Linked DNA regions of Homo sapiens: region 2 is linked to region 1. Evidence: promoter capture Hi-C in 16 types of primary human blood cells and fetal thymus (Javierre and others, 2016). All regions are on one chromosome and are shown on one strand. The core of a region is centred on a gene start or on the middle of the fragment in contact, and the rest is flanking DNA. Distances in the headings are between cores, read along the strand shown.

Region 1 (5,061 bases), core at 1,994-4,493:
ATGTGGTGGTGAAAATAATTTTATTAATCAATAGATCAACTTGGTCAGATTTGATATCTTTAGAATATTTTTTCTGATTCATGAATAAGGTATATCTCTCAATTTATTTAGGCCTTCTTTAATGTATCTTGATTGTTATATTTTTCTTTGAAGAGATTGTGTACATTTTTCTCTTTGGTTGGATTTATTCCTTAGTATTAGATATTCTCTGACACTATTATATATTTTTTAATTACAATATCTAGTTGTTTGCTGTTGCTGTAGAGAAATTAATATATTTTTAGTCTAATCTTATACTAATCAGCTCTCTAAACTCTCTATTTCTAATTTTTTTCTCTTAGATTATTTTGGATTTTTCTATATAAACAATTTTATCATCTAAAAATGATGACAGTTTTATTTTTAGCTTTCCAATTCTCATACCTCTGATTTCTCTTTTATTTCTTATTACTTTAGGAACTCCAATATCAAGTTAAATAAAAGTCACAATCATTGATTTTTTTCACTTCTGATTAAATGGGAATGCTTCCAAAACTTCCCCATAACGAAAATACTTTGCTATAGTTTATCACTATCAGGAAGTTGTATTATATTTTTGATTTACAAAGTTTTTTTAAAATCAAGAATTCAACATTATCAAGTGTTTTTCCTGAATATAGTGAAATAATAACATGGCTTTTTCTTACCTGCTAATGTTGGAAATTATATTTATAAACTTTTTGTTAACTAAGCCATCCTTTCATAGTTGGACTATATTCAACTTTTTTATGATATTGTTAACTTTTCGTGAACAGACAGATTCAATTTGCTAATATTTTCCTTGGAATTTTTGCATATATATATTTTTGAGTAAAATAGGGTTATAATTTTTCCTTCTCAATGCACTTGTATCAGGATTAAGATTACTAATATTAAAACTGTAACTTCACAGAATTAAAAAAAAATTTGAAAGAGAGAAGATGGGAGAAGATATGTACAAAACATATAACTGACACAGGGTTGCCACCCCAAATATATAAATTATGCTTACAAATCAATAGAAAAAATTCACAACCAAAATCAAAAGAGCAAAAAAAAATGAAATTCACAAACAGAACAATGGAAATATTTAATTACTATATAAAAGATCTTCCACCTCAATGTAAATTAGGATAAAATACAAATCTATACAATAATTATACACCACTTAAAAATCCAGCAGAACAATTAAACTTAAAAAATAGATTAAGTAAGTCCTGGTGTTACAGACAATGTAGAAAAACAAGAATTTCACCTCTGTTGGTAGAAGTGAAATTCATGTTATCAATTTGCAAAGCAATTCAAAAATATTTAATGAAGGCCAGGCACAGTGGCTCACACCTGTAATCCCAGCACTTTGGGAGGCCGAGGAGGGTGGATCACCTGAGGTCAGGAGTTCAAGACCAGCCTGGCCAACATGGTGAAACCCCATCTCTACTAAAAATACAAAAACTTAGCCGGGCGTGGTGGCAGGCACCTGTATTCCCAGCTACTCCTGAGGCTGAGGCAAGAGAATCATTTGAACCCAGGAGGCAGAAGTTACAGTAAGCCCAGGTCACACCATTGCACTCCAGCCTGGGCAACAAAAGCGAAACTCCATCTCAATAATAATAATAATGATAATGAAGTTGAAAGTGTGCATGACCTACTACCTAACACTTCTACATCTAGAGAAATTGTCACTTTTATGCTCTGGAAGAGTGTAAAACGAGAAACAACCTTAATATCTTTCAGTAGGGGAAGGCTGACTTAACTGTTAGATAAAATGAAAAAAAAATCTGCATATATCTACATCATACATGCTGAAAACAAAAATGCCAGTGGAAAAATAACATGTACAATATGGCACCATCTTTGTAAATGTTGAAAATACAAAAGCCAATGTTATATATTGTTTATGGCTATAAATGAACGGATTAAAATACAAAGTATGAATAGCAAAGATAACACTAACTTGATGAACCGATGACTCCAGGGCTGAAGGCCTGGGGAAAGGAATGGAGAAGGTCAAGGGGGTTCCTATTGTGACATTGTGTTTACTTTTACAATTTGAAGAAAATATGACAGCATGTTAACATTTGATGGCAGAGTGTATATAAAGTTTATAAGTCTTTTGTTTTCCCACGGTTTTTAATTTTTTTTCTTAATTATAAGTAAACATGTATGAAACAGAACCTCTTTAATTAGGTACAGTTGGCCTCTATATCCCCACTTCTGCATCCATGCATTAAACCAATCCCAGATCAAAAATGTAGTTAGGGCTAGGATGGATGTGTCTATACTGAACACATATGGACTTTTTTCTTATTTCCTAAACAATACAGTATAACAACAAGTAAATAGCATTTACATTGTATTAGGTATTATAAATAATCTAGAGATGATTTAAAGTATGCTGGAGGATGTGCCTAGGTTACATGTAAATACCATGCTGTTTACTATCAAGGACCTGAGCATTCCTGGATTTCAGTATCTGCAGGGGTTCCAGAACCAATCCCCTATGGATATCAAGGGAAGGCAGAATTTGTTAAGTATGATGGCATATCACCGCTCTTATTGCCCCTGAAACTGTTGTCTCATGCATTCTGTCTCTGATATTGAATACTCTCTGGGCTTGTTGCTTCATCTGTAATGTAAGAGGACTGAATAGGTGGTCATTGAAGATTCTTTCTAGCTCAGGCACTGTAGGTGCCACCCCTTTCCCAAACCCTTGTACTCCTCTTTCCCTTTTCAAGGTTCATTACCTGAATGCAGTAACAATCCACCTTCATTTTCTCTATCGCTCCTTTTTCTAAAAGTTACCAGGAAGCGTTTGACCAAAGCATGCTCAGTAGTCAAGTTTGCTAAAACCCTAGGAAAGTTTTTTGTTTTGCTATTCATTTTCTTATGAGTCTTTCCATTTCCATTTACAATAAAAGTCCCAAATTTTCACTCGTCGTCTCTGCCATTGAAGAGGGGTAGCGAGGAGGAGGTGCTAATAGGGAAGATGGCCCATGGGCCCAAGGGTGCTTCTGCGTTCTTACCTGGGCTTCAGACCCCAGCAAAGGAGAAGCTAACTTAGGAACGGACTGCAACGAGGCGGTCATAACTCTGTGAGATCGGGGCAGGGCAGCGTGGGTGGAACAAGTTGTCCTCTGCAGCTCCAGGGAAGAGTAGCTCTCCCTGTTCTCTCAGGGAGGCGGGGGTGTGAAGGGGGGAGGCGGGGAGACAGGGCTGCCCGGATCAGAAACATCCTGCAGCATCTCCGTCTCCGGAGGAAAAATACATTTGTCTGGGCGAACTCCGGTGGAAAAGCGCCCCAGGCTGCCACAGCCTAGAGATCTTGGGGCTGCAGCCCTCGCGGCCTGCCGAGGGAGCAGGGGGCGCCCGTGGAACTGGCTCCCTGCAGCTCTGCGGCTACACGCGGACCTCGGCTGTGTGCGAGGTGGCGGAGGAGGCTGGCCGGGTGCGAATCCGTACCCAGCCCCAGCATCTTCCACCTGCTGAGGACCACCGCTCAGCCATGGGCTACCAGAGGCAGGAGCCTGTCATCCCGCCGCAGGTAAAACTAGCGACTAGGCAGGTTCTGAAGCCAGTTGTCCGGAAATTTCATTCACCTTGCAACAGGTCAGGTCACCTACCTTCACCTGGGCTCTTGGTTTAGCACCGCGAAAAGTTCTCTGGGACAAAAAGTTTTGCCTTAATCTGACTTTTTTTTTTTTTTTTCTTAGCAGGCACTTTAATTTCACAAAATCACATCACTGAATTCCTAACAGATCCTGTACTTAGCAGCTGGGGCAGCTGTAATCTGGAAATTTTAGGATGGAGTTTGCTTACCAAGCTCTGTTGAATTACTAGCTGTTATTGTTATTCTTTATTACTGTTATCCCGGCATTTATTTTATTTTCATTAGTGACATTACTTATTATTACTAGAAAATCGTGTTAGTATCCTGCATTACATATTTGTTACTTTTCTAATTTTCTGAACTAGTATTTGCTTATAATTGCTATTTTATCTATTAGAGAGATTTAGATGACAGAGAAACCCTTGTTTCTGAACATGAGTATAAAGAGAAAACCTGTCAGTCTGCTGCTCTTTTTAATGTTGTCAACTCGATTATAGGATCTGGTATAATAGGTAAGTGTATTTGCTTTGGTTTAAATTTTAAGTGAAAGGGCAAAATTTAAGACTCGCTACGCTGCTAGTGTTCATTAATTATTTTTAAAGAAAAAAAGACTTAAATAAGAAAATTGGTAATTTTCTTCCATAAAAGGCTTCCTTTTTTTCTAGTGTAACAGTATGTATGCATGTCTTTTATGCTGAAGATGGGGCTGTAATTCACACTGTTTCCACAGTTGAGAGCATCTTCCACATGTGGTAGATTAAGGTGAAACTGCATATGGGTGGTGGTGAATCATTTTTCTGTAGGCTGCGTGGTTGATTGCTAGTGTTACCGAATGTACTTTTTCCACTTACTGAAGGGTCCATCATTATTTGAATCATCTTTCTTTAACTTTCTAGAAGTATAAAACTTCCAGATATTTGTAAATGTTGGAGGTGAAAAGTTTAATATGAAAACATACCAATCTTATGAAAAATTAAATTCATACATTCTTTACCTATCTATACAGTGTTAAATTTTAAAGTACAAAATTATTACAATATATTAATTTTAAATATTATTTAGTCAACAATGCAAATTTGTTCATTGAAAATGCGTATTATTTTCCTAATAAAGGAGCCATACAATCAGAATTAAAATAAATAAATAGCTCAGATTTTTCCATTGTATTAGAAGCAAGGGAAATTTACTGAAAAAAGTTAAAAGTGCATTGCATTATAGTAATAAAAGCAGCTATATTTTCAGTGGTTATTATTCTTTTTGGTATCTGAAAACACTCTATCTCAGAAAAGACAAGAAGAAAACAAAATCCTGCAAAATGCAATACTTTTTGAGAATACAATGTTTTATAAAGTTGCAACATTTTTGTTTCTGTCATCACCTTCTGAAAATTAAACATTTATCTGGATTGAGTTACTTTTCTTACTCTTGAATTACTT
Region 2 (4,683 bases), core at 880-3,379, 260 kb after region 1:
CGTAGTACTTTGATTTGCATATGGTTTGTTTTGCTACGACTTTTGTCAACTCTAGTTGTTTTTTAAAGTAAATAATGTCTATTATTCTTAAAGTAGTTTTATTCTGTTTTCCTTTTTACCTACCCTTATCTAAATCACCTTCTTGTAAGTTTGTCAATGTCAGTGTCACTTTTGAGTAGAGGGTCACTATAGTATAAAAGATACCTTCTCCCTCTACTGGCCATTCTTGGAAAATGATCTAGCCATTTATAAACACTTGGTTAACATCATTGTCAGTTGTATATGAGGATGGATTCTGGGTTTCCAGGACTGCCAATCACTGGAAATGATCATGAAATGTTGAGAAGAAATTCAGAGTTAGACAATGGTAAAGTAGGTGTAACCTACCAAAAATATGAAAAAGAGAGACTTATAATTCTAAAACCAATAAATTAGGGTTTTTAAACGGGGATTCAATTTAAAATATATGTTTACATTGACTTTCTTTCTTTTGGAAAATATTTCTGGGAAATACATATACTCAGTGGAAAATTAGAAATAAGAAAGAAAGAAGGAAATACATTTAGACTCATTTCCTGCTGCCAGAGATTGTTTCTTAAATTCTTTCATGCTTATAACTGTTCAAAATAGTGTTTTTCATATGAACATTGAAAAATACTTATGAACCAAGTAAATTGAGAGCAGAGGCAGAAATGTGCCTCTTCTATGGTTCCTAAGAACATGGGTCTTTAATTTTGTAAATCAAAATAGTTAATAATAATTGGTCATTGAGAAAAGAATTCACCTAAGTAGATGGTACGTATTCTGATACTCAGTTGCATTTTATCTGGGAAGAATAAAAATGAGTTCCATTTTAAAATTACATGTTTAATATAGGAATCTTGCAACACAATATAGAATATTAACTGCCACAACCAAATAACTGTGCAATCAGGCAGAGTTTAAAAATGTGAAGATATGTTTTTAAATTGTATACAAATTTACCTAACATGATATTTTTCTGCATGCATATCTTTTTTCTTTTTCTTTTTTTAAGAGAGAAACTATATAATATAGCTTATTACATTTTAGGCAGTGTACTTCATCTCATTCTTATAGGTAATAGTGGGTAATGATAAAACTATAGAGAAATAACTTGACATAATTTCACAGTTTGACCCCCAAGGCTCACATTTAACTTGTGCTGTGCAAACTATTGCCATATGTGAAAAGGCCACTAGGGTTTTGAAGATAAGCACAGTGATGGTGCAGGAAGCATGATTCTTCAGGGCATTTGAATAGAGGAGCAGAGGAATGACTTAATTCGGTACTGGGCACATGGTGCAGACTCCAAACCCTGTTTCCTTCCACATGCCTCCTGCCAGTGCTTTGCCATCATGTTGTTGACTGGAAGCTGTTGCTCTGTTAACCTAGACACTGGCAAATGAGTTTTGTTTTCAGGAGGTCTGAATTAGAATCAAGAGGAAAAGTAGTGCAAGGGAGAGGAAGGTTATTTTCTCTACTTTGATTTTGACTCTGACTGTAGAATAAGGATGCCTATTTCCAACAGAGAAAAATCAAAACCATTATGACTGATTTCATGTCATTGAAATCACCCATGTTATAACTAAAAATAAAGTCCTCTAACAGCCTTCAGCAAAGATACCTAGTTAACAAGACAATCAACTGAGATTCTGTTTTTACTATAAATCTTAATGTTTTCTGTTAAGGCCTTCATTAAAACTGCATTTGCTGGGATTCTTTTCCTTTTAATGTTAGGTATGAAAATATAAATATGCTAGGGGCTATAGAAAAGACAGTCAAAATAGAGGAAAAATACAGTTTTTGAATTTGTCAATTTCTATTTTTTGTCATGAACAATGACTGAATGACATCTTCTAAGAAGTAAAAACTTTATTTACCTTCTATGGAGTGTTTATTCTGGTCAATATACTAATGAGCATGCTATCTAAATGATACACATATAATATAAATATTTTCACCTTTTTATGTCTGAGCAAACTGAGGCTCAAAGGGGTTAATTAACATGTTGTGGCCACACTAGTTAAGCCAGGGATTCCAAACTTCAGTCTGTATGAATCCAAAGCACGTACTGTTTTCTCTGTATGCTACTACCTACCTTTATATAGTCAGTGAGTTGAAAATTATCTGTAGAATTCAAACCAAACTATTTCAGGTTGGAGAAAGTAGGCATTAAAAACTTGAGGTTTTCTACTTCTTTCATATATTTAACTTGATGATTTTTTTCTCTCAGTAGTTCAAAATGAAATAATTGTCTATCCAGAGAACACAGAAGACAATATGAAAAATGGAGTGAAGAAAACAGAAATCAATGTAGAAGGTGTTGCCAAAAATAACAACATTGATATGGAAGTTGAGAGACCATCAAACTCTGAGGCACATGAAACTGATACTGCTATAAGTTACAAGGAAAACCATCTAGCAGCTTCATCAGTACCAGATCAAAAACTGAATCAACCCAGTGCAGAAAAGACAAAAGATGCAGCAATTCAGACAACCCCTTCTTGTAACAGTTTTGATGGGAAACACCAAGATCATAATTTATCTGACTCCAAAGTTGAAGAATGTGTGCAAACTTCAAATAACAACATATCAACTCAACACTCATGCTTAAGTTCACAAGATTCTGTAAATACCTCAAGGGAATTCAGGAGTCAAGGCACCCTAATTATACATTCAGAAGATCCGCTTACCGTAAAAGATCCAATTTGTGCACATGGTAATGATGATCTTTTGCCTCCTGTAGATAGGATTGACAAAAATTCCACTGCTTCTTACCTAAAGAATTACCCACTTTATAGACAGGACTACAATCCCAAGCCAAAACCTTCAAATGAAATTACACGAGAGTATATACCCAAAATTGGCATGACTACTTATAAAATAGTGCCTCCCAAATCCTTGGAAATATCGAAAGACTGGCAATCAGAAACCATAGAGTATAAAGATGATCAGGACATGCATGCTTTAGGGAAAAAGCACACTCATGAGAATGTGAAAGAAACTGCCATCCAAACAGAAGATTCTGCTATTTCTGAAAGCCCAGAAGAGCCACTGCCAAACCTTAAACCGAAGCCTAACCTGAGAACAGAGCATCAAGTGCCCAGTTCTGTGAGCTCACCTGATGATGCCATGGTTAGTCCTCTGAAACCTGCTCCCAAAATGACAAGAGACACTGGCACAGCTCCTTTTGCACCAAATTTGGAAGAAATAAACAATATTTTGGAATCAAAATTTAAATCTCGGGCTTCAAATGCCCAGGCCAAACCCAGCTCTTTTTTTTTGCAGATGCAGAAGAGAGTATCGGGTCACTATGTGACATCTGCAGCTGCCAAGAGTGTCCATGCTGCCCCTAATCCTGCTCCAAAAGAACTGACAAATAAAGAGGCAGAAAGGGATATGCTGCCTTCTCCGGAGCAGACTCTTTCTCCCTTAAGTAAAATGCCTCACTCTGTTCCACAACCCCTTGTTGAAAAAACTGATGATGATGTCATCGGTCAGGCTCCTGCTGAAGCCTCCCCTCCTCCCATAGCTCCAAAACCTGTGACAATTCCTGCTAGTCAGGTATCCACACAAAATCTGAAGACTTTGAAAACTTTTGGTGCCCCACGACCATACTCAAGTTCTGGTCCTTCACCGTTTGCTCTTGCTGTAGTGAAAAGGTCACAGTCTTTCAGTAAAGAGCGCACCGAGTCACCTAGTGCCAGTGCATTGGTCCAACCTCCAGCCAACACAGAGGAAGGGAAGACTCATTCTGTAAATAAATTTGTGGACATCCCACAGCTTGGTGTGTCTGATAAGGTAACTGTAGCCTTTTTAAAAATAAGTATTCAAATTTAATGACATGGTTTAATGGGGGTTAACAAGCATGTTGATGTTTGTGTGCTACTTAACTCTGAACTCATATTCATCTGAAATTAAGCTATTGTAGTGAAGAGAGTGGTGATACATAAAATCTGATTATTTGCTCACAATTATAACTTATATAACTTGTTTAGGTATTACTGTAAGGTCATCATTATATAATTGTGTCATTAGCAAATGTTTTAAAGTTTCTTTGCTCATTTGTATGATATATTTACTAGTTAATGGTTCTATTTTCCTGTGTTATCTTAATTTGTTTTTAACTTGTCTAAATCTTCTGGTTTATTCTCCAATTTTACATTACTATGTAATAGTAAAGGAAATAGTCTTAATGAAATGGAAAAATAATAGTATGAGAGGCTAGACAAAATAACTGAGCATCTCTTAGCTATGTGATTTCCATCATATACACTCAACTTCAGCTTGCATATATTGTACATTTTCACATATAAATACATTGAAAGCAGAGTTTTAAAATGTAATTTTCTTAATTCCCCATTTTGTTAATTCAGTGTCAACTTTCAACTATAATATGTATGTTGACCAAACTGTTATCTAACCACTATCTAACCTTAAATATTTACCATAAAGGAATGTTGTTGACTTAGTGTTTGGTCAACTAAATGTTGTATTTTGCTAGCTTCAGATAATAGAGTCAAAGGAGAAGATGAAATTCACAGCATGATTTATGATAATCCTCATGCAATTTTAAAGAAATACTTTGTGTACTCTTACTCTGATAGTGTTTAAAGAATACATTCATATTTGTGTGACAGTTCCAGAAGTATTTAATATTAC

Evidence for each region. Contacts are between HindIII fragments. The CHiCAGO score rates a contact against its expected background, and 5 or more counts as called.
Region 2: a fragment that was not itself captured here is called in contact with the fragment with the promoter of SLC38A11 in region 1 in 1 of 17 cell types (total B cells); the score reaches 5.6 in total B cells.

Annotation. Positions count from the first base shown.
Region 1 is chr2:164,953,707-164,958,767 of GRCh38, reverse strand. It overlaps SLC38A11 (solute carrier family 38 member 11), which reads left to right and starts at 3,243. Exons shown (of 12, transcript NM_001351537.2): 1 at 3,243-3,559; 2 at 4,023-4,137. The coding sequence starts at 3,521. The HindIII fragment of the contact is 8,780 bases long and covers 1-5,061 here.
Region 2 is chr2:164,693,408-164,698,090 of GRCh38, reverse strand. It overlaps COBLL1 (cordon-bleu WH2 repeat protein like 1), which reads left to right. Exons shown (of 14, transcript NM_001365672.2): 12 at 2,255-3,822. Among named protein-coding and RNA genes, the nearest start is that of SNORA70F, 8.0 kb to the right of the region's middle. The HindIII fragment of the contact is 5,570 bases long and covers 1-4,683 here.